Linked DNA regions of Homo sapiens: regions 2 and 3 are each linked to region 1. The links are contacts of gene promoters, found by promoter capture Hi-C in blood cells and fetal thymus (Javierre and others, 2016). All regions are on one chromosome and are shown on one strand. Each heading gives the region's core, a stretch centred on a gene start or on the middle of the fragment in contact. The rest is flanking DNA. Distances are from core to core; before and after follow the strand shown. Region 1 holds the start of KMT2A (lysine methyltransferase 2A). Region 2 holds the start of SLC37A4 (solute carrier family 37 member 4). Region 3 holds the start of HMBS (hydroxymethylbilane synthase).

Evidence for each region. Contacts are between HindIII fragments. The CHiCAGO score rates a contact against its expected background, and 5 or more counts as called.
Region 2: a contact is called between the fragment with the promoter of SLC37A4 here and the fragment with the promoter of KMT2A in region 1, in 2 of 17 cell types (non-activated CD4 T cells and naive CD4 T cells). The highest score is 5.9, in non-activated CD4 T cells.
Region 3: the fragment with the promoter of HMBS here is called in contact with the fragment with the promoter of KMT2A in region 1 in 2 of 17 cell types (non-activated CD4 T cells and activated CD4 T cells); the score reaches 5.7 in non-activated CD4 T cells.

Annotation. Positions count from the first base shown.
Region 1 is chr11:118,435,165-118,438,669 of GRCh38, forward strand. It overlaps KMT2A (lysine methyltransferase 2A), which reads left to right and starts at 1,328. Exons shown (of 36, transcript NM_001197104.2): 1 at 1,328-1,780. The coding sequence starts at 1,349. RefSeq lists enhancers at 300-1,297, 497-636, 1,298-2,296, 2,297-3,294 and a silencer at 947-1,426. The HindIII fragment of the contact is 8,732 bases long and covers 1-3,505 here.
Region 2 is chr11:119,029,627-119,032,681 of GRCh38, forward strand. It overlaps SLC37A4 (solute carrier family 37 member 4), which reads right to left and starts at 1,251. Exons shown (of 10, transcript NM_001467.6): 1 at 1,223-1,251. RefSeq lists a silencer at 706-865. The HindIII fragment of the contact is 18,338 bases long and covers 1-3,055 here.
Region 3 is chr11:119,083,320-119,086,314 of GRCh38, forward strand. It overlaps HMBS (hydroxymethylbilane synthase), which reads left to right and starts at 1,562. Exons shown (of 14, transcript NM_000190.4): 1 at 1,562-1,747. The coding sequence starts at 1,715. RefSeq lists enhancers at 1,163-1,860, 1,790-1,839. The HindIII fragment of the contact is 13,649 bases long and covers 1-2,995 here.

The sequences.
Region 1 (3,505 bases), core at 78-2,577:
CTGTGTATCGATCCCCCAGCCTCAGCCAACGCAAGTTCTCCCGACACAAACCCCTCCCTACCCTCTCGGCTTTCCCAGCCTTGCAGGCGTCTAACGCTATGCTCGAGGCGCCCTCCCCTCTTTCCCGCAATAAAGTAAACCCGGTGGATATTCATTCCCCTCCCTAACTCGCCTCCTTCTTTCCCCCTCCCCCCTCAGCTTACTAACCCCGCGCACAGAGCTCGCCGCCGGCGGGCCCCTTCCACCCAGTGTATCATAATGCCCAACGCTCTCCTCCTCCCCCTCTCTTAATCAGAAACGTGCTCGCGAGCCCCCCTCCCTCTGCGTGCATACATTAGGGTCTGCTTTGCATGCAGCGGCAGGCAGAGACCGGAGGAAGAAGGGGCGGGGGCGCTTTTGCCCGCCTCTTCCCTCCAGGCCCCGTTAGCCACCCAGCTTCAGCTTCGTTGTAACACCGCGTCGTTAGCGGAGCACGCCGTGGCCTCAGTGCCCGGGCTGGAGAAACACAACCCAACTCCCTGCAGAAGGGCACGAAAGCCAGACGAGTGCACAGTAGAGCGAGGAGGTGGCAGGAGACCTGCCACTCGGTGTGTGCTTTTTGGAAAGAGCTCCAGCATGAAAATGGGAGGGGCTCCTTTTTTATTTTTTAAAGTGCGTTCATTGAGGGCCTTTCTGTTTTGCATATAGTAAACTGGGCAGCGCTTCTGTTTTGCATGTAGTACAATAAGGGCTCTTTTATTCTAGAAGCGTTCAATTCGGGCTAACCCATCTTGTATCCGTGCCCTGGGGCGGAGGAGAAGGCTCACTGCTCCCCGACCCAGCCGCCGCGTTATACTGGAAGCTGCTCTCCCGGGCTGTTCGATTCCCAGCGCGTCCCGGGAACGTGTGTAATCGGCCTCTCGGCGCTCAAGGCTGCAGGCGGCCCGGCTCCCTACGCCTCCATCCTCCGCGTAGTCCTCGCCCCCTCCCCCTCTCTCCGGAACCCGCGCTCTGCTCCGGGCTCCCGGGCTTCCTTCCCCCCTCCTTTTCCCGAGCAATGCCTCTCCCGGAGGGCGGGGCATGCAGTTATCCAGGTTGCGGGGCCGGCGGGCGGGCAGGAGGCGGCGGCCCGGGCCTCGGGATGGAGTTGCAGCGCCCAGGCGTCAGAGGCGGAGGCCCGAGGCCGCTATACAGATTGCGGGGCTGGCGGGCGCGGCCCGGCGCTCTGCATAGCGGCCGGCAGGGTGCAGGCGGCCGGGCGGCGCAGAGCTGGTTAGGCAGGTTCCGGGGCCCCGTGCCCCCCCCTCCGCCTCCCCGCCCCCCTGTGTTGTCGCCTCTCCCTCTCGCTGCTTCACTTCACGGGGCGAACATGGCGCACAGCTGTCGGTGGCGCTTCCCCGCCCGACCCGGGACCACCGGGGGCGGCGGCGGCGGGGGGCGCCGGGGCCTAGGGGGCGCCCCGCGGCAACGCGTCCCGGCCCTGCTGCTTCCCCCCGGGCCCCCGGTCGGCGGTGGCGGCCCCGGGGCGCCCCCCTCCCCCCCGGCTGTGGCGGCCGCGGCGGCGGCGGCGGGAAGCAGCGGGGCTGGGGTTCCAGGGGGAGCGGCCGCCGCCTCAGCAGCCTCCTCGTCGTCCGCCTCGTCTTCGTCTTCGTCATCGTCCTCAGCCTCTTCAGGGCCGGCCCTGCTCCGGGTGGGCCCGGGCTTCGACGCGGCGCTGCAGGTCTCGGCCGCCATCGGCACCAACCTGCGCCGGTTCCGGGCCGTGTTTGGGGAGAGCGGCGGGGGAGGCGGCAGCGGAGAGGTAAGGGGGCGAGGAACCCCCAGGTCCGGGGTCTCGACCCTCTGCGGAGCCCCCTCCCCTCCCCCATCCGGGATTGAGGAGCATCCCAATTCTGGGACCATCTCGGGGTCCCTGACCCGGGGCGAATGGCTCTCCCATCTTGGGACCCCCATGCAGGGCTGCAGACCCCCAGGCGCCCCCACCCCGGGGTTTGGGCCCATCTGGCTGAGGGCGTTTGCCCCCCGCTCTCCTCCCCCTGACCCTTCCCCAAATCCCTTGGCACAGACCCCCTCGCCGGGGTTTCCCATCCCGGGACTGAACCCCTCCTCCCTTTCACAGATTACCTCATCCGAGCAAGATTCCTCCCTCCCTCCCTCCTAGAGACCTGATCCCGCCACATCCCCGCCTCCCTCTCTGGGCAGATGTGTTACTCCTAGGGCAGTTTTCCTCTCGGGCGTCTCTCGGGTGATGGCCTCATCCAGGGCCACGTTCTCCTGGCCCTTGGGGATCGTGTCCCTTCCAGCACCTTGCTTTCGAAAACCCGATGAACCCTCGCGCCATCCCCGGGCCAGGTCCCTATACTGCCAGCCACTCCCCCTTCCTTCACCTCCACCCTCTACCCCCACCCCAAGCAGACCGATCCTCCCCCATCCCGCCCTACCCCACCGGGGAAAATCTCTCCTCTGCACCTTGCCTGGTCTCACCTCCTTTCCCTCTGAAGATAACGGTGATTCCTCATACAGCAGTCTCTTCCCCCCCCCGCCCCGTCTTACAGGGCTACAGTTTCTAGCCTATTGGTAGCCGGGAATTACTCTACCTTCACTCCACCCTTTCCCTCCTTTAGAATGAAGGATTAGTGGCATCTTGGAGGGGAAAATAGTCCACTGTCCCCTAGGCTTAGAGAAGAGCAGCTTTCCACCACTCCCCTTGGAGAGGAGGCAGGCTTTCCCTCCAGCTCTGGGGAAGGGGGCCCCTGTGAGGGGAGGTGTTTGTTGGGGGACTGAGGCAGCATCCTCCCAGGGGAAGCAGCTGCTCTCCTACCCCACCCACTGCGCCTGAGAGCACGCAGTCTCCAACCCGAGCTCCCTCCCGCCCTTCTCTTCTCGTCATTTCATTATTGATCCACCTTTTCCTAGGCCAATCCTGGGGCTTGGAAGGGGTGGGGGAAGCCAGGTTGGGGTGAGGAGAGTAGATAAGGGACAGTTATACTTTAGTGTGGTGGCGGTGGTTGCTTTGGGATGGGAGAAAAAGGATTATCAAGCAAAGTTATTCCTTAGAAAGGACTTGGGGTTGTCTCTGATTCTTGTAAGGGGACCCAAGGTGGATGAAGGGTCAGAGCGTTGCCCCTTCCCCATTAGTACTGGGGCAAGAACGGAGTTGCTTCTATAAACATTATTCGGCCCCCTTCAGCAAAAAGGAAAGTTGCCCAAGGAAGGGAAGTTGAGTTCAGGTTCAGCCAGTGGCGTTGCGCATTTGTTTTCCATTGGATGCAGAAGGGGGGAGTTCGAATTGTAGAGGGGGGAGGATGGCATGGGGGATGCTAGGAGGAGGAAGAGCAGCTGCTAGGGGCTGAAGCGAAGGGGGGTAGGGGGTTGCTGCTCTGGAGTGCTCTTGATTGAAACAGAAAGGGAAAGATAACAACCAGCCGTTTCCTGCGTGCTCTGCCGTTGGTGCACACAAAATATCCTGGGCAAACCCCTTGTCCCCTATTGTGCCCCGCACCCCTTTAGATTTACGGAAAGATCC
Region 2 (3,055 bases), core at 1-2,500, 590 kb after region 1:
CGGAAGGAGGCATGCCTGTGAGCCAGGCCAGCACCCTGTGTCCCCAGGATTTCTGCCTTTACCTCCTCTATCATGTCTGCTTGCCTGTGAAACCAGCTTTGATTAAAGGTTCAACCTAATTACTTTTGTCTGCCTGAGCCCAGGGGAGGCAGGGGTGGGATGAGCAGAGATGCCCTCTCTAGCCCTGCTCCCTCAGTCACAGAACCTTCTCATTCATTCACGGAAGGTTTATTAACTTACTAGTTGACAGGCACTGCACTTGGCACTATTAGTTTCTACACCCACTCACCACCACCGCACCAAAACACAAAGTCAGACACATACCCCGGCTACCCCACTTCTAAGCCTTCTAGAGAGGGCCTCAATCCGTGGAACTCTCAATACTTAGCACATAATAGATTTAATTGTTTCCTACAGTTGCCCCTTGTAATTCTGTGCAAGGGGGACCTCCCCAGTTCAGGTCCCACGGTGTCACACAGAAAGCCCCGCTAAGGGCTGAGGTCCTGATGGGGCCCCACAGAGCTACCTCTGGGTCCCCATTACCCTGCGACGTCAGTCTGGGCTTCCTTCGGGCTAGCTGGGGGCTGCAGGGTCTGGTTTCCAACCTGTGGGACGTTGGCAGGGGCCGCAAGCAGAGGGACTGGGCAGCTCGTGGGCGGGAAGGTGCCCCGGCGGGCTTCGGGCTGCAGGGCACAACCGTCCCGCCCAGGGCCCCGGCAACATGCCCCGGCTTTTCCGCTCAATTGGGAAAGCAACTGGAGCAGAAGGCGTAGGCGCACGCGGAGCGGGCGACCGCACGTATTCTCCCGGAGGCCCCGCGCTTCTGGCACCCAGAGGCTCAGCCTGGTAGGGGAGGGCCAGGCGGCGGGCGGGAGAGGAGGAGAGGCGGCGGGCGGCGAAGAGGCGGCGGGCTCGTGGCACCTGCCCAGCCCCGTGGGTCCTCACGCTACCCAGGACACGCTACTGTGCGGCTGGGAACCACGGGGGCCGGGGGTGCAGGAGCTGGAGAGGTGCGGAGACCACAGGACTGGCGCGATAGAAAGGGGTCTCGTGCTGGTGGTCAGGGACAGCGCCTCGGTGGCCCCAAGACCCATGAATTGTCTCTGGAACTGCAGGAACAGCTCCGGGTCGTATCGGAAGTTGGGGTTCGCCAACAATGGCTCCCCAAGACCTGAGATCCCCGCCCTCAGGTGACTCCCCTCCCCCGCATACCGCCTCCTACCTGAACAGAGGCGGGAGCCCGAATAGGACGGGGCGGGGCTAGCGAAGGCTGCGCAAGCGCGGCCGGCGGGGGCGTGGTCTTCGCCTGCTGCTTCGCTTGCCGGCCAGTGGAGTTCCCCGCCCCACATGCCGGGGACGTCGACTTACTCCCTCCCGCTGGTCACGCTGCTCCTTGGACGAACGAGCATAGCGCCCCTTAGGGGCTGGGCACGGCATGTCCAATTCTTAAGTGGTTGCATTCAACAAACCAGTTTTTAGTGAGTGCCCTCCTCTACAAAACACACCGAACACTAAGGTGATAATCATTGTTCCCAAGTTGCTCACAGTCTGGGAAAGGTGTTGTAGGAACACACAGTATTTTCTTTTTTTCTTTTTTTTTTTTTTTGAAACAGTCTCGCTCAGTCGCCCAGGCTGGAGTGCAGTGGCGCGATTTCGGCTCACTGCAAGCTCCTCCTCCCGGGTTCACACCATTCTCCTGCCTCAGCCTCCCGAGTAGCTGGGACTACGGGCGCCCACCACCACGCCCGGGTAATTTTTTGTATTTTTAGTAGAGACGGGGTTTCACCGTGTTTGCCAGGATGGTCTCGATCTCCTGACCTCGTGATCCGCTCACCTCGGCCTCCCAAAGTGCTGGGATTACAGGCGTGAGCCACCGCGCCCAGCCCACAATTTGGAATTTTAACTTGTGGTTAGATTGTTGGGGACAGAGACGGGGCCTGGAGTAAATATCAAATTCTAGTCCTAGACCCACAGCATTCTAACTGTATGACCTTGGTTAATCTCTATGAGCTCCCGTTTCCTACCAGCCTGGTAGATCATTGTGAAGACTCAACAGATGATTTAGATAAGAGCTCAGAAATTCTATAAGAGTTCTCAACAACAATGGTTTTCACTGATCCCAGTTAAGAGTTGTGAGGAGTAACAGTAGTGATGCTATTTTACAACAATGATGACTGTGTTCTCAGAAACAGAGCAAATGTTAACCCTGCCCATAGCTTCAACAGAAGGTAACATAGCCTAACAAAGTCCCCAACAGTCCCAATCAGCCAGCACTTCCCGACCTCTCCCCAATAGAAACGATATTATAAAAGCCTCAGCTTGTAAGCGATCAGGGTCTCAGCCAGACTCCTGACTGGAACTCCTTGCAGGCTTATTCCTGTGAATAAACCTGTTTGGCCGTTGAGTTGCCTCCTGTCTCTCGCTCTCTTCCCTTATATCTTCCTAACAAGAGTGGCTGAAGGAATTGTAAGTGTTCCAAAATTGAGAGCAAAGATCTTTTACTCCAGAGAAGATGGTCAGGGAAGGGAGGAGGAGGAGATGAGATAAAATAGGATGACAGGCCGGACGCGATGGCTCATGCTTGTAATCCCAGCACATTGGGAGGCCAAGGCGGGCAGATCACTTGAAGTCAGGAGTTCGAGACCAGCCTGGCCAACATGGTGAAACCCTGTCTCTACTAAAAATACCAAAATTAGCCAGGCTTGGTGGCACACGCCTGTAATCCCAGTTACTGGGGAGGCTGAGGCAGGAGAATTTCTTGGACCTGGGAAGCAGAGGTTGCAGTGAGCCGAGATCGTGCCACTGCACTCCAGCCTGGGTGACAGAGCGAGAGCCTGTCTCAAAAAAAAAAAAAAAAAAATAGGATGACGATGTCACTGAACTTCGTTAATTCAAAATCGGGGAGGAGCCTAGTTTGTACCAGGCACTGTGCTTTCAGCCAGGTAGATCCAAGGACCAGGAAACAGTTCCTCCGAAACCAAACCAGAGCAGATTCTTACTTTACCTAATAGAGGAGTAGGAAGCCATCAGGTTTTTCTCCGCTTTTATTTTTAAG
Region 3 (2,995 bases), core at 312-2,811, 650 kb after region 1:
TTAAGACAGGGTCTCACCGGGCGCGGTGGCTCATGCTTGTATTCCCAGCACTCTGGGAGGCTGAGGTGGGCGGATCACCTGAGGTCAGGAGTTCAAGACCAGCCTGACCAACATGGTGAAACTCCGTCTCTACTAAAAATACAAAAACCAGCTGGGTGTGGTGGGAGGTGCCTGTAATCCTAGCTACTCAGGAGGGTGAGGCAGGAGAATTGCTTGAACCCGGGAGGTGGAGGTTGCGGTGAGCTGAGATTGCACCATTGCACTCCAGCCTGGGCAACAAGAGTGAAACTCCATCTCAAAAAAAAAAAAAAAAAAAAATGGGCGTCTCACTCTGTCATCCAGGCTAGAGTGCAGTGGCACCACCACAGCTCACAGCTACCTCGACCTCCTGGGCTCAAGCGATCCTCACACCTCAGCCTCCTGAATAGCTGGGACTACAGGTGTGTGCCGCCACACCTGGCTATTTTTGTATTTTTTGTGGAGATGAGGTTTTCACCATGTTGCCCAGGGTGGTCTCAAACTCCTGGGCTCAAGCAATCCTCCTGCCTTGGCTTCCTAAAGTGCTGGGAATATAGGTGTGAGCCACTGCACCTAGCTGGGTGATTATTAATAATCATGATTGTTAATTATGTTCATGATTACAGGCGCGGTGGCTCACGCCTGTACTCCCAGCACTTTGGGAGGCCGAGGTGGGCGAATCACCTGAGGTCAGGAGTTCAAGACCTGCCTGACTAACATGGAGAAACCTCATCTCTACCAAAAATACAAAATTAGCTGGGTGTGGTGGTGCGTGCCTGTAATCCCAGCTACTCGGGGGGCTGAGGCAGGAGAATTGCTTGAACCCGGGAGGCGGAGGTTGCAGTGAGCTGAGATCGTGCCATTGCATTCCAGCCTGGGCAACAAGAGCGAAACTCCGTCTCAAAAAAAAAAAAAAAATTATGTTCATGGGAAAGCACTTTTCCTAACAAGCCCTTTTCTCACTACATGTAGCGTTTGTGCTCCCACTTCAGTTACTTGTCTTTAGGCATGACCTTTAATCTCTCTGAACCAGTTTCCTCATTTTAAGAATTGAAATGCTGGCTGGGCCAGTGGCTCACGCCTGTAATCCCAGCACTTTGGGAGGCCAAGGCGAGATGACTGCTTGAGTCCAGGAGTTCGAGACTAGCCTGGGCAACATAGTGAGGCCACCTCCCCGCTGTCTCTATAAAAAAATCTAGAAATTAGTCCCACGTGGTGATGTGCGCCTGTAGTCCCAGCTGCTTGGGAGGCTGAGGTGGGGGGATCGCTGAAGCCGGGAGGTCAAGGCTGCAGTGACCCGTGGTCATGCCGCTGCACTCTAGTCTGGGGACACAGTGAGACCCCGTATCAAAAAGAAAAATGCTGCCTATTTCAAGGTTGTAGCAAAGCTAAGTTTGAACAGAGCAAAGGAAGCGCCATAGAAGCTGCACTACTTGCTCATGTCACAGCTGGGGAATGGGGTGGTCGAATGGGGAGGTCCACTGTCGCAATGTTCCAATTCCCGCCCAGAGGGAGGGACCTCCCCTTCGAGGGAGGGCGCCGGAAGTGACGCGAGGCTCTGCGGAGACCAGGAGTCAGACTGTAGGACGACCTCGGGTCCCACGTGTCCCCGGTACTCGCCGGCCGGAGCCCCCGGCTTCCCGGGGCCGGGGGACCTTAGCGGCACCCACACACAGCCTACTTTCCAAGCGGAGCCATGTCTGGTAACGGCAATGCGGCTGCAACGGCGGTGAGTGCTGAGCCGGTGACCAGCACACTTTGGGCTTCTGGACGAGCCGTGCAGCGATTGGCCCCAGGTTGCCATCCTCAGTCGTCTATTGGTCAGAACGGCTATCTTTTTTTTTTTTTTTTTTTTTTTTTTTTTGGTCCGAGTAGCTTTTAAAGGGCCAGTAGCTCGGTTGCCCTCCGGAAGGAATGGGGAAATCAGAGAGCGGTGATACTGGGTTAAGAGTGGAAGGATTGTTTGGAACGGAACTCCGGTCCCTGCGGGCATCTGGGTGGGATTCCCATCAGGCCTGGGATGCACGGCTCTAGATTTAGTGACCCAGACCAAGAACGTTCGTCTACACAGACGGGGTCCTTTCATTCGAGGCTGGGCTGAGGCGGATGCAGATACGGCCCCTTTGGGAAGACACGTTCCACTTTTGATTCATAGGAGAGAGTATCAGCCAAGCCTCCGAACTGCACACAAACGTCTTAGAAGTGCGCCTTCTTTTTGTGTTATAGTGGTCTCCCAGCCACAGCCAACGCTCCAAGTCCCCAGCTGTGACACACCTACTGAATTACTACCGTGGGTGGGAGGCCGCCGTGGGCCTTTCCATTACGAGCCTGCTTGCCGAGCCCTGGGCTTGTGCACAGACAAACTGCAGAGCTGGTGGAGGCCACTGCCAGGCCGAGATAAGAAAGAGATGGGGAGCTGCTAATCTCCCCCTGTCCAGCCTGTTGGTGAGGGCTGGGATCTTTGCTCTTGCAGTCATTCCAGAGCCCTGGACTAGGAGTAGGAAGATCTGAATTGTGGCCCCAACTCTCTTTCGGTTATTAGCTCTGTGACCCTAGGCAAGTCACCTCATCCCTTGATGCCACCCGTTGCTTCTGTAACATGGTCCCAAAGGTGCCTGTCTTGTCCACCTGATAGGATTTTTGAGACGACAACAATATGCAAAAGCAATAGCTTCAACATAGAAGTGCTCAGTGTTTTATTTTTTAATGAAACGGTTTGACTTGGATATGCTGTGCACATTCAATGAACTTAAGGAATTGTTTGAACCTAGTAGTTCTGGGACCTTAGAGTCCTTTCTGTGGGCTCCCTGTGGCCCAGAATTTTGGTGGCCACGTTTAATATCAAGCCTAGCCTAATTTGCAAAGGGTCTCCCAGGGTTAATTTATTGGAGTGATCACATGGAGTAGACCAGAGTCTGAGGGCAGAAAGCTGTCACCTGCTTCGGCAATAGAGGCCCCAGATGTCTGGGTGCAAAAG